Regions from separate parts of the Homo sapiens genome. Here regions 2, 3, 4, 5 and 6 are each linked to region 1. The links are contacts of gene promoters, found by promoter capture Hi-C in blood cells and fetal thymus (Javierre and others, 2016). All regions are on one chromosome and are shown on one strand. Each heading gives the region's core, a stretch centred on a gene start or on the middle of the fragment in contact. The rest is flanking DNA. Distances are from core to core; before and after follow the strand shown.

What was found. The method cuts DNA at HindIII sites, captures the fragments that hold promoters and counts their contacts. A CHiCAGO score of 5 or more calls a contact.
Region 2: a fragment that was not itself captured here is called in contact with the fragment with the promoter of CRAT in region 1 in 1 of 17 cell types (naive B cells); the score reaches 5.1 in naive B cells.
Region 3: a contact is called between a fragment that was not itself captured here and the fragment with the promoter of CRAT in region 1, in 5 of 17 cell types (naive B cells, total B cells, naive CD4 T cells and 2 more). The highest score is 6.1, in naive B cells.
Region 4: a contact is called between a fragment that was not itself captured here and the fragment with the promoter of CRAT in region 1, in 5 of 17 cell types (M1 macrophages, activated CD4 T cells, M0 macrophages and 2 more). The highest score is 7.7, in M1 macrophages.
Region 5: the fragment with the promoter of ASB6 here is called in contact with the fragment with the promoter of CRAT in region 1 in 2 of 17 cell types (neutrophils and monocytes); the score reaches 6.1 in neutrophils.
Region 6: a fragment that was not itself captured here is called in contact with the fragment with the promoter of CRAT in region 1 in 17 of 17 cell types (M0 macrophages, naive CD8 T cells, M2 macrophages and 14 more); the score reaches 16.7 in M0 macrophages.

The regions. Positions count from the first base shown.
Region 1 is chr9:129,108,676-129,113,316 of GRCh38, reverse strand. It overlaps CRAT (carnitine O-acetyltransferase), which reads left to right and starts at 2,524. Exons shown (of 14, transcript NM_000755.5): 1 at 2,524-2,834. The coding sequence starts at 2,808. It overlaps PTPA (protein phosphatase 2 phosphatase activator), which reads right to left and starts at 1,902. Exons shown (of 10, transcript NM_178000.3): 1 at 1,686-1,902. The coding sequence starts at 1,716. RefSeq lists silencers at 1,589-1,638, 2,329-2,768 and enhancers at 1,166-1,706, 1,639-1,918. The HindIII fragment of the contact is 8,818 bases long and covers 1-4,641 here.
Region 2 is chr9:129,838,761-129,843,401 of GRCh38, reverse strand. All of the region lies in intron 1 of USP20 (ubiquitin specific peptidase 20), which reads right to left. Among named protein-coding and RNA genes, the nearest start is that of USP20, 5.6 kb to the right of the region's middle. RefSeq lists an enhancer at 3,501-4,001. The HindIII fragment of the contact is 4,052 bases long and covers 336-4,387 here.
Region 3 is chr9:129,780,238-129,784,878 of GRCh38, reverse strand. No RefSeq gene overlaps it. Among named protein-coding and RNA genes, the nearest start is that of TOR1B, 21 kb to the left of the region's middle. RefSeq lists an enhancer at 2,685-3,185. The HindIII fragment of the contact is 8,751 bases long and covers 1-4,641 here.
Region 4 is chr9:129,726,844-129,731,484 of GRCh38, reverse strand. LOC124902284 (a long non-coding RNA gene) reads left to right here and starts at 4,618. Exons shown (of 2, transcript XR_007061815.1): 1 at 4,618-4,641. RefSeq lists a silencer at 4,541-4,641. The HindIII fragment of the contact is 202 bases long and covers 2,151-2,352 here.
Region 5 is chr9:129,639,716-129,644,356 of GRCh38, reverse strand. It overlaps ASB6 (ankyrin repeat and SOCS box containing 6), which reads left to right and starts at 2,206. Exons shown (of 6, transcript NM_017873.4): 1 at 2,206-2,470; 2 at 3,635-3,816. The coding sequence starts at 2,358. RefSeq lists a silencer at 1,840-2,439 and enhancers at 3,146-3,702, 3,703-4,260. The HindIII fragment of the contact is 16,646 bases long and covers 1-4,641 here.
Region 6 is chr9:129,623,608-129,628,248 of GRCh38, reverse strand. NTMT1 (N-terminal Xaa-Pro-Lys N-methyltransferase 1) reads right to left here and starts at 2,086. Exons shown (of 4, transcript NM_014064.4): 1 at 1,954-2,086. RefSeq lists a silencer at 1,722-1,961 and enhancers at 1,575-2,113, 3,966-4,015, 4,026-4,165. The HindIII fragment of the contact is 3,086 bases long and covers 753-3,838 here.

The DNA.
Region 1 (4,641 bases), core at 1,275-3,774:
AGTTCGAGACCAGCCTGGCCAATATGGTGAAACCCTGTCCCTATTAAAAATACAAAAATTAGCCAGGCATGGTGGCGCACCTGTAGTCCCAGCTACTCAGGAGGCTGAGGCAGGAGAATCGCTTGAACCCGGGAGGCAGAGGGTGCAGTCAGCCGAGACCATGCCACTGCACTTCAGCCTGGGGGACAGAGTGAGACACTGTCTCAAAAAAAAGAAACACAAAACCATTATGAGATTTTTTTTTTTGCGACTTTTTTTTTAGCTCATCAGCCATCGTTAGTGTTAGTGTATTTTATGTGTGACCCAAGACAATTCTGCTTCCAATGTGGCTTAGAGAAGCCAAAAGAGTGGACACCCCGGTTTTTTTTTTGGGGGGTGACGGAGTTTCACTCTTGTTGTCCAGGCTGGAGTGCAATGCCGCGATCTCAGCTCACCGCAACCTCTGCTTCCCAGGTTCAAGCGATTCTCCTGCCTCATCCTCCCTAGTAGTTGGGATTACGGGCGTGTGTCACCACGCCCGGCTAATTTTGTATTTTTAGAAGAGACGGAGTTTCTCCATGTTGGTCAGGCTGGTCTCGAACTCCCGACCTCAGGTGATCAGCCCGCCTCGGCCTCCCAAAGTGCTGGGATTACGGGCATGAGCCACCGCGCCTGGCCTGGACATCCTTGTTCTAAGGGCACACACCCAGAGGTTTTGTACAAAATAAATGTCTGGTTTTGAATGTCCTAAGAAACGGAACCCAGCTCTTTGTTCACCTCTTTTGTGGGGCATGGAGGGGATGCCTTTTCTGATTTTCAACATTTCTCCCTCCTGAGACCTTCCCAGGGACCCCAACATTGGAGACAGGATAGCAAGAATATCAAATGCTTTCAAAACATTAGCTGTGTTTGGTCGGCCAACCTATTTGCCTCTGTCGGGAATGTAAAAGTTATCTATGGCCAGTCCTTCTTAGTTCAAGGTAGGTCGGCAAACAGCCTTCTCCTTCTGCACAAAAAGGGTCTCTAAGATCCTTCCGTAGCACCTCCATCCCAGTTATTTAAGATGAACTAAAAAGAGGCTACAAGGTAAATAAGAGTTACCGAAGGAGATGCCGGAGAGACTAACCTCCTTGCACAACCAGCCTTTTAAAATTAGGGATTTAGACACCACGGGCAGTTTCCCTCAATAAATTCTCAGGCACTGGAACCAGAGAGTAGGAGGATGAGGGGTGAGCAGGACGCGGAGGCCGAAACTGGAGGCGAGGCGGGCGCAGGCCCACGGAGCACCACCCCATCCCCTAAGCAGCGACTAATAAAGACGGCAGCCTCCGGAATCACTTTCGCCCCCCTCCCTGGCAGCTTCCCCACCGAGTCAGCAGCTTACTTAAGCACGCGCTGCCCAGAGATGCAAAAGGCCCCCTTATGACCACGGCGCTGCCCACCCAGCATTCGGGCAGCCTGGACTCCCACAAAACCCAGAGTTGCGCCCCAATCACCACCCCTTTGCAGCCCCTGGTTCCCTCCCCAGCGGCGCCCCACCACCCACCTCTCCCCTAAGGCCATTCAACTCAGTCCCTCCTCGGGGCCCCTCAGCTTTTGCCCCTCCAGTTCCTCCGTGTCATGACTCTCGCCCTCCTGAGCCTCCCACACCTGGCACCGCCCCCACCCTACCCGACCCCGGCCCGGCCTGGCCCCGCCGGCCTTACCTGGCGGCGGCTGCCGCTCGCCCTCAGCCATCTTGCTCCGGCCAGGAGCCGACCCGGATGCTTGCAGTCCCCTCTCGCCTTTCACTCTTGCACCCACCCTTCCTCTCCCCGGCTCCACCAAAGGCTCCGAGCTTCCTGAAGACAAGTGAGCGCCGGCCGGCTATAACCGAAAACCGAGAGTTAAAGTCACCACAGCGAAGACGGCCGCCATGTCGGTGCGGGGCGCTCAGGGAGCAAGCCTATTAACGGCCGGCGCGCGGCGGACGCGCGGAACCGGGCGACGGCCATGTCAGTGCGGGGCGCGCGGGGCGCATGCGCGCCAACGGCCGCCAAGCGCTAGGACCGCTCACGGCCGCCCGAACGTCGGGCGCCGCGACTGCCACGATTGTGCGGGGCGTCAAGTTTGGGTTGTGCTCAGCCATGTTTTTCCGGGACAGTCTCCTGTCCCGGAGTACCACCTGTCATCTTTGTGGGTGGTACTGACCCTAACCCAAGGAATATTAGAGGACATTCCCCGGTCAACATGGTTGTGTTTTCCTATCACTCTAAGAGTTAGGCTCAAGGACACCAGACGGAGTTGGAAAGGTGCACACCACTACCTCCAACAGCTTAGAAGACATGTGGGGACAGGGGAGAGACAGCTGGACGGTGACCTCCTCCTTCCTCCTCCACAGGTCTCAATGACTCGCCCTCGGCCCTGCCCCTCTGTCCCCGCCCGCCGTGGTCCCGCCCCCGACTCGCAGCCAGCCTACTGCGACCCGCTACCGGGCGACGCCCCGCCCCTCCGTCCCCGCCCCTCCTGTCCCTCCTCAAGGAGACTCCGCCCCATCGATGCCCCGTCCCCGCCCCACAGCCAACCTCCCGGGCACCGTTGCCCGCCCGGGGCCCGCTACCGGCCCAGGCCCCGCCTCGCGAGTCCTCCTCCCCGGGTGCCTTCCCGCAGCCCGCTCGGCCCAGAGGGTGGGCGCGGGGCTGCCTCTACCGGCTGGCGGCTGTAACTCAGCGACCTTGGCCCGAAGGCTCTAGCAAGGACCCACCGACCCCAGCCGCGGCGGCGGCGGCGCGGACTTTGCCCGGTGTGTGGGGCGGAGCGGACTGCGTGTCCGCGGACGGGCAGCGAAGATGTTAGCCTTCGCTGCCAGGACCGTGGTGAGTGCGGCGGATCCCGGGCCTGAGGGCCCTGGACGGCCTGGGCGGGCCGTGCGGTTGCGTCCGGGAACGGAGACCGCGTCCTGCGGCCGCTGTTCGACCCGGCCTCCAGCTGATGGGGTGGGGTCAGGCGGGCGTCCCAGGTTTGGCAGAGCAGGAGATTGGGGCGCAAGGTCAGAAGCGGGATTAAACCCACGTCCTGGAGCATTCAGTTCCAACGACCCAGGAAAGACAAGGGGGACCCCGGCTTCAGTTAGCACCCCCACCCTTAGACCCAGAGACAGGCCGGTAGGGGAGAGAGACCAGGAGCATCCAGACCCTAGCTCACTCTCCCAGTTATTCTCCGATTGACACACCCGTCGCACGCTTAGGCCAGAGCCACTCCTCCGACCCTGTCCAGTTGGTCACACTCCTTTGGTTTATCAGACGGTCCCTGGGGAATTGTGTGTGGCCAGAGAAACACGCGGAGGCATCAAGCTAGAAAGGCCTCAGAACTGGCAGGTGGCAGCCCCATGGTCTCCCTCCCCTCCAGCCCCCTTCCCCACCCTGGCTGTATCCTTCCCTCCAGCCCCCTTCCCCACCCTGGCTATATCCTCCCCTCTAGCCCCCTTCCCCACCCTGGCTATATCTACCCCTCAGTCCTCCCCGGTGAGCAGCCCGGATGCTAGCCTAATTTCAGTCCCTTCCGTCCCTGATCCAAGCATATGTTGCTGGTGTCTCACTCTGTCTCAGACACACACTACGGGGCCAGAGGGCGGAGGGTGCATCCAGGCTCAGGCCTAGAGGCTCTTTTAGGTGTTGCAACACCCTGAGCCTCCACCGCACCCTTGTCACTGTCTCCCAAGCTGCATCCATCCCACAAACAGCCTCTAGATCATCCTCCAGGACCATCCGACTGGACTGGTTACCTTCCTGCAGGGAAACTGAGGCAAGGAGGGACTTGCCCAGAGTCCCCTGGACCTGCTCATTCAAATCCAGCCCAATCCCAGTGTCCTTTGGTTTATTTTTCATACCAAAAGTCCTCCGCTCTTGGACCCTAGCTGAATGAGCCACAGCTCAGGAAAAAATGAGTGTTCGTAGAGGGATGGCTCAGATGGGTCCCAGGAGTCCTGGAGAGAAACAGGAAATAGGCAGGGCTTCTGGCTGTCCCATCCACTGATGGCCTTTTCCTGGTGTCTGCTCCCTTGCACCAACCCTAATTTCAGGACCGATCCCAGGGCTGTGGTGTAACCTCAGCGGCCAGGCAGTCTCTGTCCTCCAGCCAAGTTTTCCCTCATCAAAACGATCTTCGCAGATTCTGACAGGTGGATTTTTTATTACCTTTTGTCCTGACTCCCTGGCACTGAGCCCATGCAGAGAAGAAAGGAAAGAACTTTCCAGGTTCCCTTCTACTGGAATGCCCCCCCACTAGCCCTCTCACCTGCTCCCCATTCCTCTACTTCTGGGAGCTCGGGAGGGTGGAGCAGCTTCTAGAGTCCAGGAGCTTCCCCTGCCACTGCCACAACCCCCGATTCCACCACAGCCATCGCCACTGCCACCTGCCTCCCGCTGAATCTTGGCTCTTGTCTTCTCTTTCCAGCCCAGGCAAGTGGCTGCCTCTGGCTAGGTTCTGCTCACTCACTTTGTAGCACAGTTAGGCTTAGAGATCCAGCCAAGGCAGACAGACAGGGCCCAGAACCTCAGTCCTGCCATGGAGGAGGACGGGCAGCAGAGAGAGAAGGTATGGAACAGAGCTCCTGCCACTCGCCTGCCCACTGCAAGAGCAGCCTCGGGCCCTCCTGTCTCTGCCCACTCCAGGGCCTCCTGG
Region 2 (4,641 bases), core at 1,112-3,611, 730 kb before region 1:
CTGGACTGCAGTGGCGTGATCTCTGCTCACTGCAACCTCCGCCTCCTGGGTTCAAGCGTTTCTCTTGCCTCAGCCTCTAGAGTAGCTGGGATTACAGGAATCCACCATCACACCCACATAATTTTTGTATTTTTAGTAGAGACGAGGTTTCACCACGTTGGCCAGGGTGGTCTCGAACTCCTGACCTCAAGTGATCTGTCCACTGCGGCCTCCCAAAGTGCTGGGAGTACAGGTGTACGCCACCATGCCCGGCCTACATCTTTGACCAAAAAAAAAAAAAAAAATTATTGGTCAAAATGTGTGCTTTGAAGGCTCTACATAGATATTGATAAGCTTCCCTTTAGAAACAGTATATACATTTATCTGCCTATCAGCAGTATATGAGTATGTGCAACATAAAAAGTTTAAGGTTTACTAACATTTTAAAAATTAATGGTTAAAAATCATTTCTATGAAGGAAAAAGGGCGGTAGTACAGAAAACACTGGGTGCTTAATATTCCACACAAAGGGCCAGGTGCGGTGGCTCACAGCTGTAATCCCAGCACTTTGGGAGGCTAAGGAGGGTGGATCACAAGGTCAGGAGTTCGAAACCAGCCTGACCAACATGGTGAAATCCCATCTCTACTAAAAATACAAAAAATTAGCCAGGTGTGGTGGCACATGCCTGTAAGCCCAGCTACTCAGGAGGCTGAGGCAGGAGAATCGCTTGAACCCAGGAGGCAGAGGTTGCAGTGAGCCGAGATCACGCCATTGCACTCCAGCCTGGGCAACAGAGTAAGACTCCGTCTAAAAAAAAAAAAAAAAACTTCCACACACAGGACCTAAAATATCGGAAGCATGGGGGTCGACAAGAGGGTGCATATCTCAGCTGTCTGAAAGTTATCATTTTGCTTCCTTTTGGTACCCAACCAACACTGACCATGTACCTCCTTAGGAACAGTGACTTGGGGTGCTGGGAAACAGCCAGGCATAGGCCCTGCTCTTGTAGTGTACAGAGTCCCATACTTCAACCTCAGGGTACTTGCAAGCAGACACTAGGGAGGTGATAATCACCACCAGCACCTCTGTTTCCTACACTCACTGAGGGTTAGCTGCTGCACATACATTATCCCGGGAGGTAACGGTCACTATGGAAGGAAATTACAGGGACAAGTAGCCCTGGGTTCAGTACCTCACTCTGCCCCTTGCAAGTCTGTGACTTTAGATAAATCGCTCAGTCTCCACATTCATAAAATGGGGACAATGACAGCACCTAGGGTTACTGAGAAGATGAAGTGAGCCAATGCACAGTAAACGCTAAGTTGAATGACTTAGGGCCTCATGGACTTTCTGGGTGGCTCAGATTTTTTATTGATTTGCATGACAAGAATGCTCAAAAAATGTTTACTACTATAATTTGTGTCACTGGCTGTTCTATACATTAGGACACTGAAATTGGTAGGAATAGAAGTCACATGCTCAAGGTCACTCAGAAGGGCACCCTCCATGAGACCACTCAGGGCTCTGCAGGCCAACCAGCCCAGCAACGAACAGGCGCCATGGTGATGGAGTCAGACACACCGCAGGGGACTCATGCACGGATTCTTGGTGCGCTTCCTGAGATCTAAGCTCACCTCCTGGTGCTTTTGACATCAAAGAAAAAGCCAGGAAAGGCAACTTCATGGACTAGAGCAAACCCTTCAACAGCTTCCCTGTCCTGGGGCAGCCTGCGCTTCTGAACCCCCATTCCTGCTGAGCACCTTTGCTTCCCTGCAACGTGAAGGTTCCCTTTCTCCACCAAGGCTGAGAAACTGTTCCAGGCAAGACACTGAGGAGACATAACAAAGCTGGATTGTGGGTCAATGTGGGGGGATGCCACAAAGAACATCCCCAGGACAACCAGCATGCCTGAGTGTGGACTGCCTGTTAGATCATAGTATTTGTTATGGACTGAATTGTTCTCTCTCCCCCATTCATATGCTGAAGTTCTAACCACCAGGACCTGAGAATGTAATCATATTTGAAGATAATGTCTTTAAAGAGGTAATTAAGTTAAAATAAGATCTTTAGGGCAGGCCCTAATCTAATCTTACTGGTATCTTTATGAGATGAGAAAATCCGGACTCACACAGAGGAAAGACCAAGCCAGGACACAGTGAGAAGATGGCCATCTGCAGGCCAAGGAAAGGGCCTTCAGAAGAACCAAACCTGTCGGCACCTTGATCTGAGACGTCTAGCCTCCAGAACTGTGAGAAAATAAATCTCTGTCGTTTAAGCCACCCAGTCTGTGGTACTTTGTTATGGCAGGTCTGGGAAACAAATACATGATTCCATCAATGTGAAAGTTTCTAGGCCGGGAGTGATGGCTCACGCCTGTAATCCCAGCACTTTGGGAGGTTGAGGCTGGCGGATCACCAGAGGTCAGCAGTTTGAGACAAACCTGGCCAACGTGGTGAAACCCCGTCTCTACTAAAAATACAAAAATTAGCCGGGCATGGTTGTGGGCACCTGTAGTCCCAGCTACTCGGGAGGCTGAGGTAGAAGAATCACTTGAACCTGGGAGGCGGAGGTTGCAGTGAGCTGAGATGGCGCCACTGCACTCCAGCCTGGGTGACAAGAGCAAGACCCTATCTCAAAAAAAAAAAAAAAAAAAAAGTTTCTAAAGGTGGAACTCACGCTTTGGTTATGTATGATAATATCCTTATTCTTAGTTAATTCCCGCTGGGATATTTAGGGGAAAAGGACTGTGATGTCTGCAGCTTACTCCTACCTGAATCAGCAATAATTATGACAATAACTATAGAGATTAGAGTTAGAGTAAATAAGGCAAATGTTACTAATTCGTGAATCTAGGTGAGGGGTATGTGGGAGTTCATTGTATTCTTGTAATTTTTCTTAAGTTTGACTTTTTAAAAAAATAGATTCCCTTTCTCACCTTTGAGGTGGGAGCAGGGAGCGGGTTTTCTGGAACAGGCAGCCCCATCGCAGGATCCAGGACCCAGCACCCACTGAGCCTCCAGACCTGGTACCCAGGGCTTTGTTCACCCACTCTCTAGGGCAAGGGCGGCTGTTTCTCATCTCACAGAGGAGGAATGGAAGGTCCCAGACAGGAAGCAACACAGCAGGAAGCGAGCAGGTTGTGTCTGCTTTCCCCACTCTTTCCGTCCCACCTGTGCCTCTGTGCAAATATATGGAGTGTGCACAGCAGGCATTTCATAAAGGCCAAAAGGGAAAGACACCTGTGCAGCTGAAAGAACGTGCTTCCAGGTGCAGCCACGCAGAGTAGGACCTACTGTACAACAAGTCAGCAAGGTGCAGCGTGTGCCCCGCCCTCCCGGCCCACCAGAGCCTCCTCTCTTGGGGCAGGAGAGCACAGGATGGGGGGAGGAAGGCCTGAGACTTTTGGCAAAGAGCCCACCATTGCTGGCCCCAGGAGACCTCCAAGATGCTTCAGGCTCATAAAGGCAGCTTTCCTTCCCTGGGCCTCCAGGGTGGGGGAAAGTGCCACTCCACCCACAGGGGCAAAGTGGAGGGGCAAGGCCTGAGGAAGGGCAGGGGAGGGACCAGCCAGCACAGCCTGTGGTCCTAGGTAGGCAGCACATCTGGACCTGGCTGCCTCTGGTGCCTGTTACTCATTGTTTTCCCAGAGGTTCTGGCTACATCCTCCTCCTCCCAGCGAGGAACCAGTCCCTCAGGATGGGGAGGGCGACACTTCTGGGCCTCCCACCCACACAACGATGCCCACAGCCCTGCCCACGCTGACCCCAACCACATTAGCCATCTCACACCCCCAGCCCCGCACAGGGTGTGTGCCCACCCCCTCCACAGTCCCCTCTGGCCCTCGCACACCCTTTCTCTCCCTCCTGCTGTCTTTACTCTACCTCCACACAACAGCATTCTCCCTAAGTCCCAGACACACCCACCCCTTCCCTTAACCCAGTCCTCACTCGGAGGCCACCATCCTCTGACTCTCGAAGCAGAGCCCTCAGGCCTCCCCATGCCTCCACACTTCCACAGTCTCTGCTGCCCACACACTTCTGTGTCTCCTCATCGCCCTTCCCCCTGCCCCACGGCCCTGAATATTGGAACTGACACTAACATCTTAGTCTGGTGTTCTCACATGTGACCTCACTGGACCCTCACAACCACCCTGGGAGGTGGCAAGGTTCCAAACTAAATCCATCTCCATCACTAACAATGGAGACACCGAGGCTCAGAGAAGTGGAATAACTGGCTAAGGTCACACAGCTACTGAGCTGCAGAACCAAAATTCGAACCCACGACTACCTGCCCTGAAGCCCATGCTCTGAACACTCAGCTCCACGATGTCACAAACAGCCCCGGCCAGCCTGGCATGGGGACGACCTTCACCTCCCCAAATCCAAACACGCGTACTCCAAGGAAGCTTCCTCACAAGAGCCTCTTCTGAGTCATTCTTCAGAGCATTTTTCTGCTCAGCTTAACTTCCTTCAGTCTAGGATATGACAGTATCTCCCTGCAGCTCAAAGCCTGCTACTACCCTTTGCTCTGAGCTCTGTCCGGAAGAGTCCCTTAATTGGAGAAGGCGTGGGTTTGGGGCTACCCTAGGCTGCAGCCAGTCACTGGCCCAGGTCATTAAAAGCCTCACACTCAGTGGTGAGTAAGCATGAGCAGAAACTCAG
Region 3 (4,641 bases), core at 655-3,154, 670 kb before region 1:
GGCAGGAGAGTCGCTTGAACTCAGGAGGCAGAGGTTGCAGTGAGCCAAGATTGCACTATTGCACTCCAGCCTGGGTGACAGAGCGAGACTCCATCTCCAAAAAAAAAAACAAAAACAAAAAACAACACAGCACCCTATCCATTTTTATGGACACATAATACATGTGTAGCTGAAGTAAAAACTAAACACAAAAAGGAACTGATATTTAAGCATATCCTGAGAGTGACAAAATTTTTTAAAAAAAGGAATTGATATACTTCAACTTAGACATGGAGATAACTTTTGGAGAGGAATCCCAAAGTGATGGGGCTTGAAGTTTTAGTTTTATTAAAGATATAGAGATCTAGGCCAGGCACGGTGGCTCATGCCTGTAATCCCAGCACTTTGGGAGGCTGAGGCAGGAGGATCACTTGAGTCCAGGAGTTCAAGCCCAGCCTGGGCAACGTAACAAGACCCTGTCTCTACAAAAAATACAAAAATTAGCTGGGTATGGTGTTGCGCGCCTATAGTCCCAGCTACTCGGGAAGTTGAGGTGGGAGGACTGCTTGAGCCCGGGAGGTTGAGGTTGCAGTGAGCTGTGATGGCACCACTGCACTCCATCCTGGGCAATAAAGCGAGACCCTCTCTCAAAAAAAAAAAAAAAAAAGAGATTTGAAGCAAATATAGTAAAATGCAAAATGTAATCTCTGCTAAATCTGGGTGGAGAGTATGTTCTCTCCTCTATCTTTGATGAAATAGTTGATAATTAAATGAAAAAGTTAAGATGGTCTCTAGAGGGATAGCTTACACACATCAGGAGAATCTGGCCTTTGGTAACCTGAAGAGTGTTGCTATTTTTGCCGGTGAGAGAAGGGCTAGAAAGCATCCATTTCTCCCCAACCGTGCCTCGCCAGGGGCTTGGCCGAGGGAGCCTGGGGTACTTCCCTAATCTAACCACTAGATGGGGCCAGTACTACGGGTTAGAAATGGGGAGACCCGAGGGAGGGCTGTGGGATCCTTCTAGCAACTTGACACAAGGAAGAATCAGTTTTTGCAAGAAACAGAGGATGATAATTTACTTGAGAACATGAGAGACAGGTAAAGGTAGAAAAACAGCAGTCACAGCTGGGTGCGGTGGCTCACGCCGGTAATCCCAGCACTTTGTGGGGCTGAGGAGGGCATATTGCTTGAGTCCAGGAGTTCGAGACCAGCCTGGGCAACATAGCAAGACCCCTGTCTCTACAAAAAATAAAATATTACCTGGGCCTGGTGGCATGGTGCCTGTAGTCCCAGCTACTCTGGAGGCTGAGGCAGAAGATTCATTTGAACCCAGGAGTTTGAGGCTGCAGTGATCCACAATCGTGCCACTCCAGCCTGGACAACAGAGTGAAACTGTCTTGAAAAAAAGAAAATGAAAAAGAAAAACAGGAGTCAGGTAACAAAAGAACCCCTAGTTAAAGTAGCAATATCATTCAATACCATTCACAGGTATTGGTAAAGTACCTATTTTCTTTTTTTTTTCCTTTTTTTTTTTTTTTTTTGAGACAGAGTCTCGCTCTGCTGCCCAGGCTGGAGTGCAGTGGCGCAATCTTGGCTCACTGTAAGCTCCACCTCCCGGGTTCTCGCCATTCTCCTGCCTCAGCCTCCCGAGTAGCTGGAACTACAGGCACCCACCACCATGCCTGGCTAATTTTTTGTATTTTTAGTAGAGACGGGGTTTCACCGTGTTAGCCAGGATGGTCTCGATCTCCTGACCTCGTGATCCGCCCGCCTCGGCCTCCCAAAGTGCTGGGATTACAGGCGTGAGCCACCGCACCCGGCCAAAATACCTATTTTCTAGTCTCCTAAGTTACCCGAGATGCAGTTGTTAAGCATTAAAACAGATGCCAACAGGGGTTCAGGGAAATTCCAGTTTCTATCCCTTTGGGTTTTTTGTTTTGTTTTGTTTTGTTTTTGAGATGGAGTCTCGCTCTGTCGCCCAGGCTGGAGTGCAGTGGCGTGATCTCGGCTCACTGCAACCTCAGCCTCCAGGGTTCAAACGATTCTCCTGCCTCAGCCTCTCAAGTAGCTGGAATTACAGGCGCATGACACCACGCCCAGCTAATTTTTGTATTTTTTAGTAGAGACGGGGTTTCACCATGTTGACCAGGCTGGTCTCAAACTTCTGAGGTCAGGTGATCCACCCACCTCGGCCTCCCGAAGTGCTGGGATTACAGATGTGAACCGCCATGCCCAGACCCTTTCCCTTTGTCTGATTGATATCATTCCACCCCTGTTCACTGAACCAACCAGAGGCGTGTGCACCTTCTGGAGGCTGGAATGATTCGTGTTAGTCTGAATGCCTGGGCTTTGGCATAAAGGCCCTGAGTCCATCTTCTGGCTCTGCTCCTGATCAGCTCTGTGACCCTGGGTGATGGTCTTAGCCTTTCTAGGCTTCGGTTTTCTGATCTGTAAAGTAGGGATGATAATAACATTACCTAGCCTGTAGTCCCAGCTATTTGGGAGGCTAAGGTGGGAGGATCCTTTGAGCCCAGGAGTTCAAGGGTGCAGTGAGCTGTGACCGCACTACTGCACCCACCCTGGGCAACAGAGTGAGAACACTATCCTATCTCCAGCAGGCACGCAGGGCCCCATAACTTAAGCTCATGTGATCTTATCCCTGCCCTCTTCTTGGCCCTAGAATCCTCACCATGTATTTGCTCTGCCTAGACTGGGCTGTGCATTCCTCTGGGAAGGGGTGGTGGTTATCTCGCTCATATCCCAGGGCCAGCACAGGGATAAACTTAAAATTGTTTGGAATGAACAACAACAAAAAAATCAGGGCTGGGCGTGGTGGCTCATTCTTGTAATCCCAGCACTTTGGGAGGCCGAGGTGGGAGTATCACTTGAGTCCAGGAGTTTGAGACTACCCAGGACAACATAGTGAGACCCTGTCTCTATGAAAAATTTAAAAAGTAGCTGGGCATGGTGGTGTGTCCGTAGTCCCAGCTACTCAGGATGTAGTCCCAGGCTACTCAGGAGGCTGAGATGGGAGGATTACTTGAGCCTGGGAGACCAAGGCTGCAGTGAGCTGAGATCATGCCACTGCTCTACAACCTGGGTGACAGAGTGAGACTTTGTCTCAAAAAAAAAAAAAAAAAAGAAAAAGAAAAAAGAAAAAAAGAAAAAAGAATAGGCGGGGCATGGTTGCTTACACCTATAATCCCAGCACTTTGAGAGGCCAAGGTGGGCAGATCACTTGAGGTCAGGAGTTCAGGACCAGCCTGGCCAACACGATGAAACCCCATCTCTACTAAAAATACAAAAATTAAGTGGTCATAGTAGCATGAGCCTGTAATCCAGCTACTCGAGAGGCTGAGGCAGGAGAATCTCTTGAACCCAGAAGGCGAAGGTTGCAGCGAGCTGAGATCACACCGTTGCACTCCAGCCTGAGTGACAGAGACTCCGTCTTAAATAAATAAATAAATCGGTCAATTTGGTCTAATCCAGTGAATGTCTCAAGTAGCATTATTGAGGCATATTTTCCATATCATAATTTACCCTTTTAAGTGTGCAATTTAGGGATTTTACCACATCATCATAGTCAATTTACCAACCTACTATGGTGTAACCACCAACATAAGTCAGTTTTAAAATATTTTCATCATCCCAATATGATCTCTCTTTCTGAGACAGCGTCCTGCTCTGTTGTCTAGGCTGGGGTACAGTGGCGGAATCTTTGTACACTGCAGCCTCAACCTCCTAGGCTCAAGCGTTCCTCCCACCTCAGCCTCCCAAGTAGCTGAGACTACAGGCATGCAACACCACACCCAACTAATTTTTGCATTTTTTCTAGAGTTTGGTCTCATTATGTTGACCAGGCTGGTCTTAAACTCTTGGGCTCAAGTGATCCTCCCACCTTGGCCTCCCAAAGTGCTCGTATTACAGGTGTGAGCCACACCACACCTGGCCTCTCTTTTTTGTTTTTTTTAACTGACCTATTTCAAAGCACTTTGCAGACATTTTTAAATGTCACCCCTACACCCTTCATCATGTATCTCCTAAGATTAAGGAGAGCTCTTCCAAAACCACAATACCCATACCGTCTTGCTTTGCTTTTCATTTCTTTTTCGAGATGGGATCTCATTCTGTCACCCAGACTGGAGTGCAGTGGCGCAATCTCAGCTCACTGCAACCTCCGCCTCCCAGGTTCAAACAATTCTCCTGCCTCAGCCTCTCGAGTAGCTGGGATTACAGGCACCTGCCACCATGCCTAGCTAATTTTTGTATTTTTAGTAGAGACAGGGTTTCGCCATGTTGGCCAGGCTGGTCTCCAACTCCTGACTTCAGGTAATCCACGTGCCTAGGCCTCCCAAAGTGCTGGGATTACAGGCGTGAGCCACCACGCCCAACCTGTTTTGTTTTTTAAATTCAAGATCTAATCAAGGATTAAACCTTGCATTTCGTTGTCTTGGGAAGCCAGAACCCAGACTGAATTGAATCCAGGTTAATGAACATTGCTAGCCCATGTGAAAACTTGCACAGGCCAGGCGCCTGGGGAAAGTGCAGTGCACCCTGAATCTCATTTAATCCTCAGAACGTTCTGCTAGGTGCCACTGCCCACATTTTATGGAGAGAGGTGGTGTCCTCCAGGCTGGAGTGCAATGGTGCAATCTCAGCTCA
Region 4 (4,641 bases), core at 1,002-3,501, 620 kb before region 1:
CACCACCACACTTGGCCAATTTTTTGACTTTTTTGTAGAGACAAGGTCTCGCTATGTTGCCCAGGCTGGTCTCAAACTCCTGGACACAAGCGATCCTACTGCCTCAGCCTCCCAAAGTGCTGGGATTACAGGCGTGAGCCACTGTGCCCCTCCTAAAATATGTTTCTAGAAGTAAAACTGCTGGGTCAAAAAGGCATGTCTGTTTGGGACGTGTAGTACATATTGTCCTCCAAAAAGATGGTTCCAATTTGGACAGGATTTTTTAGAGTGTTGTCAATTTTTAGTACCTAAGTAGAGAAATTTACAAGTATATATATAAAGAATAGGGACCACCCAGAATCCCACCTCCCTGTAAAAAGTCACTGGTCACATTATCGTTTATGACTTTCCAGATTCTTTTACTATGCATGTTAAACATATATAATGTCATATGGATATATGTGGATATATATATCTAAAAGAGAGAGTGAGCCTGGGAGGTAGGCAGTGTTTCTCCACCTCTAAGCCCCTTTTGATGATGTTATTGTGATGGTCCCTAGAGATGCAGGTTTGAGGCCACCCAGCTGACGGTGGCTGCCCCCTCAGTATCTACACCAGCCAAGAAGAGTTTGAGTAGCTTCACTTTTAGAAGTTTGAATTATGAAACTAGGGCTTTTTTTTTCCATTTTCCAAATATAAAATTATAACACGGAGTTATATATATTTTTTATTATGTTTGCTGACTGTCCAGAATTGAACTTGGCCAGGCGCAGTGGCTCACGCCTGTAATCCCAGCACTTTGGGAGGCCCAGGTGGGTGGATCATTTGAGACTGGAGTTCGAAACCAGACTGGGCAACATAGTGAAACCCCATCTCGAAAAATAAATACAAAAATTAGCTGGGTGTGGTGGCGCATGCCTGTAGTCCCAGGTACTTGCGAGGCTGAGGCAGGAGGCGGAGGTTGCAGTGAGCCCAGATCATGCCACTGCACTTCAGCCTGGGTGACAGAGTGAGGCCATGTCTCAAAATAATAATAATAATAAATAAAAAAAAATTTAAAAGGTGACACTACATTGTAACCTCATTGGAGTGGATTTTTGCTGGCAAAGGGGTTGGATGGGAAGCTGTTGCTACAGGGAGACAGGGAGGAGGGATACAATGGAAAGAGGGGACCGAATTGTTAGGATTGTCTGAAGAATCTGGCCAGGTGCAGCAGCTCACGCCTGTAATCCCAGCACTTTGGGAGGCTGAGGCGGGCGGATCACCTGAGGCCAGGAGTTTGTGACCAGCCTGGCCAACATGGTGAAACCTTGTCCCTACTAAAAATACAAAATGAATCAGGCGTGGTGGCAGGTGCCTGTAGTCCCAGCTACTCAGGAGGCTGAGGCAGGACAATCGCTTGAACTTGGGAGGTGGCGATTGCAGTGAGCCGAGATTGTGCCATTGCACTCCAGCCTGGGTGACAAGAGCGAAACTCTGTCTCAAAAAAAAAAAAAAATCTGGGTAGGGACGAGGCGGGGTTAAGGTTGGATGGTGGCACTGTAGACACCTGGCCTGGGTGATTGATCTTTGCTGCAAGGGCCCTGGGGAGCCAAGGGAGGCTCTAGGCAGGGAAGAGACATGATCCGTGATCAAGGCTGTGTTTTAGACAACTGGCCTGTTGACTGTGCAGAATGGCCAGGAAGGAGATAAATAAGACAAGAGGCTGTTTACTGTGGACTGGCAGGTAATTAGAGCAGGGGCCTACCATCCAGTCTGCTCTGTGGCAGGTCTGGGGGTTCCCTGGGTGTCCCGTGGGCCAAGGGAGGCCAAGCTCAAGGTGAACTTTCTTTTCTTTCTTTCTTTTTTTTTTTTTTTTTTTTGCGGGGGGGAGACAGAGTCTTGCTCTGTCGCCCAGGCAAGAATGCAATGGGGCAATCTCGGCTCACTATAACCTCTGCCCCCCCGGGTTCAAGCAATTCTCCTGTCTCAGCCTCTGGAGAAGCTGGGATTACAGGTGTGCACCACCACGCCTGGCCAATTTTTGTATTTTTAGTAGAGACGGGGTTTCACCTTATTGGCCAGGCTGGTCTCCAACTCCTGACCCTCAGGTGATACTCCCGTCTCGGCCTCCCAAAGTGCTGGGATTACAGGTGTGAGCTACCGCACCAGCCAAGGTAAACTTTCAAGCTTCATTCCCACCTGTGTTAGTTTTTTATGGCTGTGTAACAAGTTGCCAGTTTAAAACTATACACGCTTACGATCATACAGTTCCTGTAGGTCAGGAGTCTGGGCGAGGCTCAGCTTGGTGCTGTGCTCAGGACCTCCCAGGGCTGCAATCGAGGTGTCATCCAGGCTGAGTCTCACTTGAAGCTCAGTGTCTTCTTCTAAGCTTGTTTGAATTGTAGGCAGAATTGGGCTCCTTGTGGTTCTGAAACTGAAGCCCTCAGCTCCTGGCGGCCTCCCCCTCCGCAGGCACTTCACAGCATAGCTGTTTGCGTCTTCCAGCTCAGCAGGAAAGTGGCTGTCTGCTTGGAATCTCTTCTTTCAGGGACAACCTGGATCTTTCAAAAGGCTCGCCTGATTAGGTCAGGCCCACCAGGGAGAATCTTCCTTTTGCTTACATCAGCGTCAACTGAGTGGAGACCTTAATTACATCTGAAAAATCCTTTCACCTTTGCCGCACTCTATTTGTCAGAAACAAGCCACAGTTTCCGCTCAAGGAGAAGGGATTACACAAAGGTGGGACTACCTGGGGTGGGAATCACAGGGCCATCTTTTTTTTTTTTTTTTTTTTTTGAGACGGAGTCTTGCTCTGCAGTGCAGGCTGGAGTTCAGTGGTGTGATCTTGGCTCACTGCAACCTCCACCTCCCGGGTTCAAGCGATTCTTCTGCCTCAGCCTATCGAGTAGCTGGGATTACAGGTGTGTGCCACCACGCCTGGCTAATTTTTTGTATTTTTAGTAGAGATGCCATGTTGGCCAGGCTGATCTCAAACTCCTGACCTCAGGTGATCTGCCTGCCTTGGCCTCCCAAAGTGCTGAGATTACAGGTGTGCGCCACTGTGCCCGGCTAATTTTTTGTATTTTTAGTAGAGATGCCATGTTGGCCAGGCTGGTCTCAAACTCCTGACCTCAGGTGATCTGCCTGCCTCGGCCTCCCAAAGTGCTGGGATTACAGGTGTGAGCCACTGCGCCCGGCTGGCAGGGCCATGTTAGAATTGTATCTGCCACACCGTCTCTCTTTTGAGTCCCCCTTCTGATTTCAAGGTGCTCATTCCTGACTGCCTTATATCCCAAGCTCAATCCATTCCCACTTTTTCTAAGGTGTGAACTAAGAATTAAGAAGTTCTTGGAGAGCCATTACGCAGTGGCTCACACCTGTAATCCCAGCAGTTGGAGAGGCCAGAGCGGGAGAATCACTTGAGTCCAAGAGTTTGAGGTTATAGTGAGCAAGGATCTCACCACTGCACTCCAGCCTGGGAGACAGATGTTCTCAAACACACTGTTTCCAGTACCTCCACTGACCAGCAAGTATCCAGAGGACACATCTAGCTCTGTGTGAGGCACCAGGGGGACACAAAACACAGGGAAGAAAGCACTTTTTTTTTTTTTGAGACGGAGTCTCACTCTGTCACCCAGGCTGGAGTACAGTGGCATGATCTCAGTTCACTGCAACCTCCGCCTCCCGGATTCAAGCAATTCTCCTGCCTCAGCCTCCTGAGTAGCTGGGACTACAGGTGTGCGCCACCACGCCTGGCTAATTTTTGTATTTTTAGTAGAGACGAGGTTTCACCATGCTGGCCAGGCTGGTCTCAAAATCCTGACCTCGTTATCCGCCCGCCTCGGCCTCCCAAAGTGTTGGGATTACAGGTGTGAGCCACCAGTCCCAGCCAAAAGCACATTTTTTTTTAACCTTTGAAGACCTTATTATGTACTCGAGGCTGTTACATTGGCCTGCTTTCTTTTTAAAGATTGTTTTTTCTATAAAGTTATTTTAAAAATATGGAGACTCGTGGATTGTGAGTCACCATAAAATTTAAGCTAATTGGCCTGGCAGAGCGGCTCAGCCCTATAATCCCAGCACTTTGGGAGGCCCGGGCAGGTGGATTGCCTGAGGTCAGGAGTTTGAGACGAGCCTGGCCAACATGGTGAAACCCTGTCTCTACTAAAAATACAAAAAGTTAGTTGGGTATAGTGGCGCAGGCCTGTAGTCCCAGCTACTCGAGAGCCTGTGGCAGTAGAACCAATTGAACCAGGGAGGTGGAGGTTGCAGTGAGCCGAGGTTGTGCCATACTCCAGCCTGGGTGACAGAGTGAGACTCAGTCTCAAAAAAAAAAAAAAAAAAAAAATTAAGCTACTCACATTTTGGCTTGTGTCTTTCCAGATTTTTTACATTGCACGTATAAAATATGTGATAAACACTGATGTGCACATTGCTTCCCCCGCCCCCCGATTTTGAGATTTTGATTATTTTTCAAAGTAGAGCTTAGAGACGGGTTTGCTGGGGGAAAGCATGTGAATATCTTCACGGCTGTTGGTTCCTGTTTCCTAAGGCTTCTGTAAACGCTGTAACCCCTGCTGGTGGTTTGGGATTTGCTTGTTTCTTTGTCTTTCCAGAGGAGGCTGGGTCAGGAGCCCGTTGCCAGCCCTGGAGATCTCCCAGGAGAGCGGAGAGGATGGG
Region 5 (4,641 bases), core at 957-3,456, 530 kb before region 1:
GGATCACCTGAGGTCAGGAGTTCGAGAATAGCCTGGCCAACATGGTGAAACCCCGTCTCTACTAAAAATACAAAAATTAGCCTGGCGTGGTAGCGCATGCCTGTAATTCCAGCTACCTGGTAGGCTTGAACCCAGGGGTTGGAGGTTGCAGTGAGCCGAGATCCTGCCACTGCACTCCAGCTTAGGCAACAGAGTGAGACTCCGTCTGAAAAATAATAATAATAATAATAATAAATAAATAAATATAAAAATGTTTACTCTAAGACCCATCGGATTGTCTTGAAATGCGCCTTTAAATGTTTTTTTCCTGGGCTGGGCAACTCTCGCTGTCTGGCAGGTTCCAGGGAGAGGGGCCCAACTTGGCAGAGCAAGGCCCAGGAGGCCAACGCTGTGATGTGGACTGCTGGGGCGGGAAACCCCTCTTCATCATCAGCTTCCCAGAAGCAAGAAGGCATCAAGGCCCCCCCACGCAGACTCCAGGTGGGAGAGGAGGCTCAAATGCATGGCCCAAGGGGAGGTGCCTCGACTCCAGAAAAGTGGTTTTTCCAAGGCAAGCTGGAAATGTCCATTTCCATGTGAGCAGAATTTCCCGATTTCACCCAGGGAGAAATTTCTTTCCTACAGCGAGAACCAAGGCAGAAACGTGCTGGCAGCTGTGGACTCTGCGGCCTGGAGCTGCTTCTAGGAAGCCCAAGCTGGTGTTGCCCTAAAGGGGCTTAAACCCGGCTGCCCACTCCGCCCCTTCTTCCTGAACCAGAGGGTTTTGGCTCCTTCCCACTGAATTCCACTTCCACCAACAATTACAGTGCGCTGGCTCCAGCATCTCAGGTGAGTGTGATTATACTTTTTTTTTTTCTTTTTGAGACAGAGTTTCGTTCTTATTGCCCAGGCTGGAGTGTGATGGTGCGATCTCCACTCACTGCAACCTCCGCCTCCCGGGTTCAAGCAATTCTCCTGCCTCAGCCTCCCAAGTAGCTGGGATTACAGGCGCCTGCCACCACGCCCGGGTAATTTTTGTATTTTTAGTAGAGACAGGGTTTCATCATATTGGCCAGGCCGGTCTGCAGCTTCGAACTTCTGACCTCAGGTGATCCACCTGCCTCGGCCTCTCAAAGTGCTGGGGATTCTACCCATTTTACAGATGAGGAAATCCAAGTTCAGAGACAGGCGGTAGCACACTCCTGTGTTCCCAGCTTCTCGGGAGGCTGAGGCGGGAGGATCACCTGAGCCCAGGGGTTCAAAGCTGCAGTGAGTCATGATCACTACACTACACTCCAGCCTGGGAGACAGAGTGAGACCCTGTCTCTAAAAAATACACAAGATTCGGGCTGGGCACCGTGGCTCATGCCTGTAATCCCAGCACTTTGGGAGGCCGAGGTGGGAGGATCACGAGGTCAGGAGTTCGAGACCAGCCTGGCCAATATGGTGAAACCCTGTCTCTACTAAAAATACAAGAATAAGCTGGGCGTGGTGGCCAGCGCCTGTAATCCCAGCTACTCGGGAGGCTGAGGCAGGAGAATCGCTTGAACCCGGGAGGCGGAGGTTGCAGTGAGCCGAGATCGTGCCATTGCACTCCAGCCTGGGCAACAGAGCGAGACTACGTCCCCCAAAAAAACAAAAACAACAACAACAAAAAACAAGATTCACTGAGTCCATCAAGGCAGAGGTGGAGAGGGCTAGCAGCCGTCCTGGCCAGGTGCTCCCCGGGACAGAGAATAAGAAACTGAGGAGGGGACGTGCGAGTACCCTGGTCCTCATCATTCCAGTCAGCGGGCCGGGTGGTGACAGAGGTGGCCCAGCCCCTCTTCAGGGAAGGCGAGGGCCAGCCCGAACCGGAAGGGGCAGTGTCTGATGACCACAGCTCTCAGGGGCGCCCAGGGCCAGTGGGGCAGCGGCAGGGCCGAGAGCACGACCGGCGGAACTCGGACGGCGCCCAGCGGTCGCGGGCGGGATCGCAGGGCGAAGCCGAGCCGGGCCGGGCCCTGGCAGGAAGGGGCGGACCCGCCTGAGTCTCGGATCTGGCTTGGCTCGATCCTCCACTCTCCCACTCCGCTGGGGCCGCCCACTGGACATCGCCCGAGTCGGCCTGGCGGTCGTGCCCCAGGACGCGCCGAGGTCCTCCGAGCCCGCAGGGGGCGCTGTCGCCATATGGCCCACCCTGAGTCGGCGCGGGCAGGAAGTACGAGGGTCACTTCCGGCGGGGGCGCGGCTTGGACTGAGGAGCGGACCCGGCCGGGCGCAGGGGCTGGACTGGCGGAGCAGGTGGGGTCCGCGGCCGCCGGAGCGTTCCGGTCGGCGTCTGGGCATCTCGGCCTCGGCAGAAAGCGCGACGGCCCTGCTGCGCGGGGCCCGCGGCGATGCCGTTCCTGCACGGCTTCCGGAGGATCATCTTCGAGTACCAGCCGCTGGTGGATGCGATTCTGGGCTCCCTGGGGATCCAGGACCCCGAGCGGCAGGAGTCTCTGGACCGGTAACTCACCCCCTCCCGTGAGCTGGCCGAGGCCGCTCCGACCCCGCAGCGTCCCACTTTATCACCACAAGCCGGGCGGGGTGGATGCGTCCCCCTTGACAGAGGAAGGGACGGGCGGAAGCCGGGGTTGCGTGGCTCGGAGTGCGCGCTGCCCCGCGCGGATCCCACTCCTGCCCCTTGCATGGCGGAGACGAAGGGCGGGGAGGGCCCGAGGGCGGAGGCCCGCGGGTTGTCGCAGGGCCTGCGCCTCAGCCCCACCCTGTCGCCTGCCTGTCCTGTGCCACCCCCCGGCGTGGCAGAGGAGCAGGGTGGAATCCGTGAGGCCTCAGATGTTACCCCAGAGCAGTGTGAAGGTGGGCTTTTGTAGCAGAGTTTGCGTTTTTATAGACAAGAGCTGGTCTGTCGTGGACCTGCAGGAAAGGGGTCGGGAGCGAATCTGCATTCACTGCCCATGGTACTAGGCACCTGGGGTCCATCAGTGGCTCAGCAAAACCCCCGCCTTCTTGGCGCATGTGCTCCAGAGGAGAGACTGACAAGTAATTGTACGGCGGCACGCGAGGTGGAAGGGAGGGGAGAGCAGAAGGAAGGGGCTCGGCTCAGGTGTTGAGGGGGTTGTCAGTTGGTATTTCCAACACGTGGTAATGATGAGTCTCGCCATCCAGGGACTCTGGTGGAAACGTAGGCTTTCTTCATCAATATCAGCTGAAGGTCTCAATGTGAGGGGAGGGAGGAGGCTGTGTTGCTGTCCTGGCTGCAGGTGTTGCCGGGGCTGGGGTCCTGCGGGTTTGAGGATGGAAGGGCTTTCTGAGGAAGAAGCATCAAAGTCGGGCTTGGGCTCTTGGCCTCCAGGCTGGTGGTCCCTTCAGTCCCAGCAGCCCAGGTGTGTGAGGCTTTGTACCTAAGTCTGCGACCGGACTCTGGGCAACGCGGGAGGAGAGCGCAGACAGACCCAGCCCATTCTCCGCAAATCCCAGTCTGCTCCCGTATTAAGAGATGCAGCGTGGCCCTCTCTCTACTTCAGAGCTTCCCCCAAGCCCCTGTGACCCACAGAGCCAGGGCCCTGCTTGCTGATGATGATAGCAGGACTAAAGCCCACCAACCCACAGGCTGCGCGGTCACCCGGTCCCACAGCTGTGCCTACCCTCAGCCTCTCTCCTGTCCCAGGCCCAGTTATGTCGCCAGCGAGGAGAGCCGAATCCTTGTTCTCACTGAGCTGCTGGAGAGGAAAGCCCACTCTCCCTTTTACCAGGAAGGCGTGAGCAACGCCCTGCTCAAGATGGCTGAGCTGGGGCTGACGCGGGCGGCCGACGTTCTCTTGCGGCATGGGGCCAATCTCAACTTTGAAGGTCAGCGAGAGCCCCGGGGGTGGGCAGGTGGCTTAAACGCGGCCCGACGCTGGGTGGGCGCCCATGTCCCCAGCCTTGGCTTCTACCATCCTCTGAGGAGTGACTTCCCCCCCTTTATTTCCTGGGTGGCTGCAACTAAGGAAACTCCCATTGGGTGGCCTCCCACCCCCTGCGGGTTTTCACATGGCTCTTCCCACCTCTGTTCCAAGAGCGAGTGTTGCTGCTTCTACCATGTGATTGATTAGCAAACTTTCCCCAGCTCCCAGATTAATCCCCACTTCCATTAATGCAAAAATGCGGCTGCTGGCACTGTGCCCAGAGCTAAGGGAAGGTAATTTTCTGCTACTTACTCTGAGCCAATTTGTTTTTTTTTTTCTCATGCCGTAGGGAGAGGGGAAAACAGGCTGCATTAGGCATAAATCACCACAGGACACCCTGGCTCCTGGCTCCTGAGTGCCAGGGATGGAGATGGAGCCGAGCTCCTTTCTCTGTGTTTTTCAGCCCAGGGAGGGCAGGGTTAGTCGGCAGACAGGCAGGGCTGCCTTGTGACCTAATAGGGGCCTGAGACAGCCAGGCACGTCTCCTTTCCCCATCCGAAGACGGGCTTGGAGTCTGCTGGGCTCCTGGAGGGTCAAGGAGCTGAGACGGGAGGGCCGGTTCTGAAGCCAGTGACTTGGAGACCAGCTTGGAGAACCTGGCTGTTACCACCAGGCCTACAAAGCAGAGCCGCCAGAGCTGCTGTGTAGCGCGGCCTCCCAGCCATTCTGAGAGGGTGCGCCCCGTTTTATGGTCCCTTCTTACAGAAGAGGAAACTAAAGCCCCCAA
Region 6 (4,641 bases), core at 1,046-3,545, 520 kb before region 1:
GTGTCCAGATTGGAGTGGGGCAGGAGGAGGTCCCTAAGAGTCTGAGGGAACAGCAAGGTCAGTCAGCCAACAGCAGGTGGTCCTGCTACACTCTGCTCCAGAGCACAGATGCCGTATGTGGCTGAAGGGCCTGGGAGGGGGCCAGGAGCACACGGGCTTTGTGTGCACTCTAGGCTAGCTCAGAGAGGAAGACAAACCCCTCATGCCTGGTAAATGGCTGCTCAGCCAGTAAATGTGATCCTACATCCTTCACAGTCACCTGGCTGCTGCCTCCTCCTCCCCGCCAAGGTGTTCAGACCCAAGGTACTGCATCTCTTCTCCCACGACCCATGGAAGAAAACAGTGCTGAAACTGTCACCGGCAGACTTTTGCAGTCATCTCATCCTCCTCACGTAAGTCTCTACGGAAAAGCCTGCCTAAAAGTTACCTCCACCCTCTAGCAGCCTAGTGGACAGAGTCCATCCTCCCTGGATCTTTGTGGACAGCAGCAGGCCACATGCAAACGGCAGAGTGCTCTAAGAAAAAGAAGGAAGTGAGAAAGGGAGGGAAGAAGACAAAACAGGGGATACATTTAAAAACTAACAAAGGCTCTGATGGAGCCAGATGAACCAGATCTGAATCTTGGCTCTGCACACCTGCTGTGTAAGCACAGACAAGACATTAAACCTCACCATTCCTCAGTTCACCTATAAAATGGAACAGTAATACCGACTTTACAGAAAGGCTGTGATTAAAAGTGCATATGAAAAGCTTAAAGTGCTTTGCACAGTGCCGGGCACATATTCTCTCTTGAGCTTAGAAATCTCTGTCAAATGAGATTCTTGTCAACTCTGCCCACTATGAGGATCAAATGGGAAAACTGCCTTAGAATGCCACAGAAGCTGTATTGGACACACCTAGGGGACTGTTACTGGTATGCTGGGCGGCCAAGCCAGCAGACTCAAACAGCTCTGCAAATCAGCCAGAGTGGGGAGTGAGCTTCCTCTGCCTATAAGCACAGAACCCCCACCGAGATTTTTTAGATGCCATCCTTGTGATCCTAGGGCTTCCGGCCTCCACCAAAACGCTCCATGCATCCTTCCAACCCCCGCACAGTCCTCAGTTTACATAGAGAAAAACCAGCACACTAAAGGAAGTGACGTGTCTTTAAACATACAAACAGGAAGCCGAGAACAGAATTAAGGAGGGAATCCAGGCTCCTTATACCAGCCCTGGTTCCTCCCAGAGGCTCATCCCATCTCACTGGGCAATCATTCTACACACCACAACCACCGGTTACACTGTCCCTCCCCGCTGTCAGGGCCTCTGACACCAGTTGTGGCAATCACTTATAGTACAGAGGAGAAACCAAAGTCCAGAGGGAGAGATCACACAGTTGGTGCGCAGCAAAGTCTGGGCTTTTCGATATGGCAGCCTCCCTGCAGACAGGCTGACCTTGGCCGCAAGGGCTCTCGGGCTGTCTTTTTTGAGCTGCACCTGTGTCGGGCTGGCGCTCGGGTGGCACCCAAGGTTAAATACGACAGCAACTTCTGTGCAGCGGGCACTTAACTGTGCCAGGCTCTGAACTGGGCATTTTACCGATTTTACCGATTCCTCCCATCCATCCTCCAAGTGGGCGCTCTCCATATCCCTGTTTCTCGGAAGGGAAACAGGCTCAGAGAAAGGGATTTGCTGCGGTCTGGGGACCGGGGTGGGGGAGTGCCCTGCCTGGGCTTTGAGTGCCTTGACTTTCCTCCTGTACCCCGACCCATGGACTGCTCCGTAGTCCCTGCCCAGGTCCGGCCCGTAGACCTCTTGGGGACGCGCACGTGAGGCCTGTGCCGGCCCGCGCGCACGCGCCGGGTCACGTGACGAGCCGGGGACCCGGGACCTCAGGGCGCCGAAACAGTTAGGGGTCGCAGCCTCCCCTCTCCCAGCGGCTGCCTACCCTTCGCACCGCCTCGCGCTACTCACTCCGGGCGGGGGCTCCCGGGACCGAGAGAAGAAGATGGGGAAGAGGAAGGGAGGGCGGCGGCGGCGGAGACGCCACAAGCCAACCGCAGCTCCGCCAGACCACGACCAGACGCGACAGCTCGCGGCGCGCGCTGCCTTTGTCCGCCAACGTCACTTCCGGGCGTTTAGGGGCGGGCCCATGGCTGGCTCCACCCCCTCGCTCAGCTCGCCCCTCCCCCGCGCGGGCTCCGGATTTAACTTAACTTCTTTTGAAAAATAATTTAAATTTTTTTTTTTTTTTTTTTGAGATAGAATCTTGCTCTGTCAAGCAGGCTGGAGTGCAGTGGCGCGATCTCGGCTCACCGCAACCTCTGCCTCCCAGGTTCCAGCGATTCTCCTGCGTCAGCCTCCAGAGTACCTGGGACTACAGGCGTGAGCTACCACACCCAGCTAATTTTTGTATTTTTAGTAGAGACGGGTTTTCACCATGTTGGCCAGGCTGGTCTCGAACTCCTGACTTCAAGTGATCCGCCCGCCTCTGCCTTCCGAAGTGTTGGGATTATAGGCGTGAGCCACCGCACCTGGCCTAATTTGACTTCTTTAAAAAAAAAAAATTAGAGACGGGGTCTCACCCTGTTGCTCAGGCTGATCTTGAACTCCTGGCCTCAAGCGAGGCTTCCACCTCGGCCTTCCAGACTGCTGGGATTACATGCGTGAGCCACCGCGCCCAACACAGGTTACAGCTCAAAACTTGACTAAATTGACTTTTGGGAATCTAGAAGGACCTCCCGAACGGAAAAGAGCCGCAGCGTCGCCCTCTCCCCGTCCCCAGCACGTACAACAGTTCGTTTGGAGGCTGCAGGCTGGACTTCTAAAAACGAGTGTGTTGTGCGGGCTTTGAGTAAAAAGGGAAAAAAAAGCCATTGGTCCTCAAATCCACCCATCTCCATTAGCATCTTAAAATAATACCGACCCCCCAAAATAAATAAAATAAAAAGAAATACTCTCGGCAGTGCCATGGGATTCCCACTGAAATGAGCAAAACAAGCCCATGACGTTTCCATTCCAAAAGCGTGGCCCTTCCCTAGGCTCCTCCCATGCAAAGAAATTCTGGAGCTATCTCCGAGGCAGCGGTGATGGAAACGGGAGCTTGCAGGTGGGTAGAGCCTGTTAACATTTCCGAGCTTCAGTCTCCTGTCAGAAGAGGAAGTTGAGCAACGTAATAATTACTCAACTTCTGATGCTCTGAGAGGGTTAAACTTGTGGGACATTGCACGTCAGACCTTCAGCTCAGCACCTGCAGTGGGTTCTCAGGAAATGGAAGCTGTTATAATGACAATATCCATCTTAAGTTCATTTTTCCTATACTATTAATAATATCCTTGTGTTGGCAGGGCACGGTGGTGCACGACTCTAATCCCAGCATTTTGGGAGGCCAAGGCAGGCGGATCACCTGAGGTCAGGAATTTGAGACCAGCCTGGCCAACATGGCAAAACCCCGTCTCTACTAAAAATACAAAATTAGCCAGGGATGGTGGTGCATGCCTGTAGTCCCAGCTACTCTGAGGCTGAGGCAGGAGAATAGCCTGAACCTAGGAGGCAGAAGTTGCAATGAGCCTAGATCGCGCCATTGCTTTCCAGCCTGGGTGACAAGAACGAAACTCTGTCTCAAAAATAAAATAATAATAATACTATCCTGGTGTTCCTTCCTCTGGGCGACGCACACAGAAGGTGCTTAAAGTGTGTTTGCTCTAAATGTGTTGAAAGCTACGGTAGAAAGGGGATGCTAAAAAGCCCCTTCTGCATTGAGTCCGCAGGATGTGTGTATGTGCATCTTATTTGGCATACCCTCTAGACTATTCTAGGTCACAACTGCTACCCCTGGTCTGAGCCCCTCTCCCAAGCTTCATTTTCTGTGTCTTTAAGCAAAGGGATTGATCCTGGGCAATTTCAATCGGTGGGGGTGTCCGGAATCCTCCGCCAGGGGGCAGCTCTGATCCAAGCTCTCTGTATGCCTAAAAATCCAGCCCTGTCTTATTTCCTGTCAACAGAAGAGCAAGCCCCTTCCCCACAGCCACGCTCCAAGGCCTTCCCAGGACTGGCCGGCTCCCTGACCTCAAAGCCTCTGGCATCTCTGAATTCCCAAGCCTAGCACATAGTAGTTCCTTGATAAATATTTGCAGAGTGCAAGGGCTGGAGGGCTCCTTAGAAACCATCTAGTTAGGCCAGGCGCAGTGGCTCACGCCTGTAATCTCAGCACTTTGGGAGGCCGAGGCAGGTGGATCACAAGGGCAGGAGATCGAGACCATCCTGGCTAACACGGTGAAACCCCGTCTCTACTAAAAATACAAAAAAATTAGCCGGGCGTGGTGGTGGGCACCTGTAATCCCAGCTACTCGGGAGGCTGAGGCAGGAGAATGGGGTGAACCCAGGATGCGGAGCTTGCAGTGAGCTGAGATCGCGACTCCGTCTCCAAAAAAAAAAAAAAGAAAAGAAAAGAAAAAAAGAAACCGTCTAGTTAATCTGGTGTTTCGCAGCCATTAAAAAAGACACATACCCTTTAAATAAATACAAAAATATCTCCCTCCCCCACTCAATATTGTAGCTCTCCAGGAAAGTATGTCCCTCCATCCCTGGTGAGAAGCATTGACAGAAAATAGAATATATCTTTGGCGACGCGTTCTCTAGTGAGTCACTCTGTTATTTGAA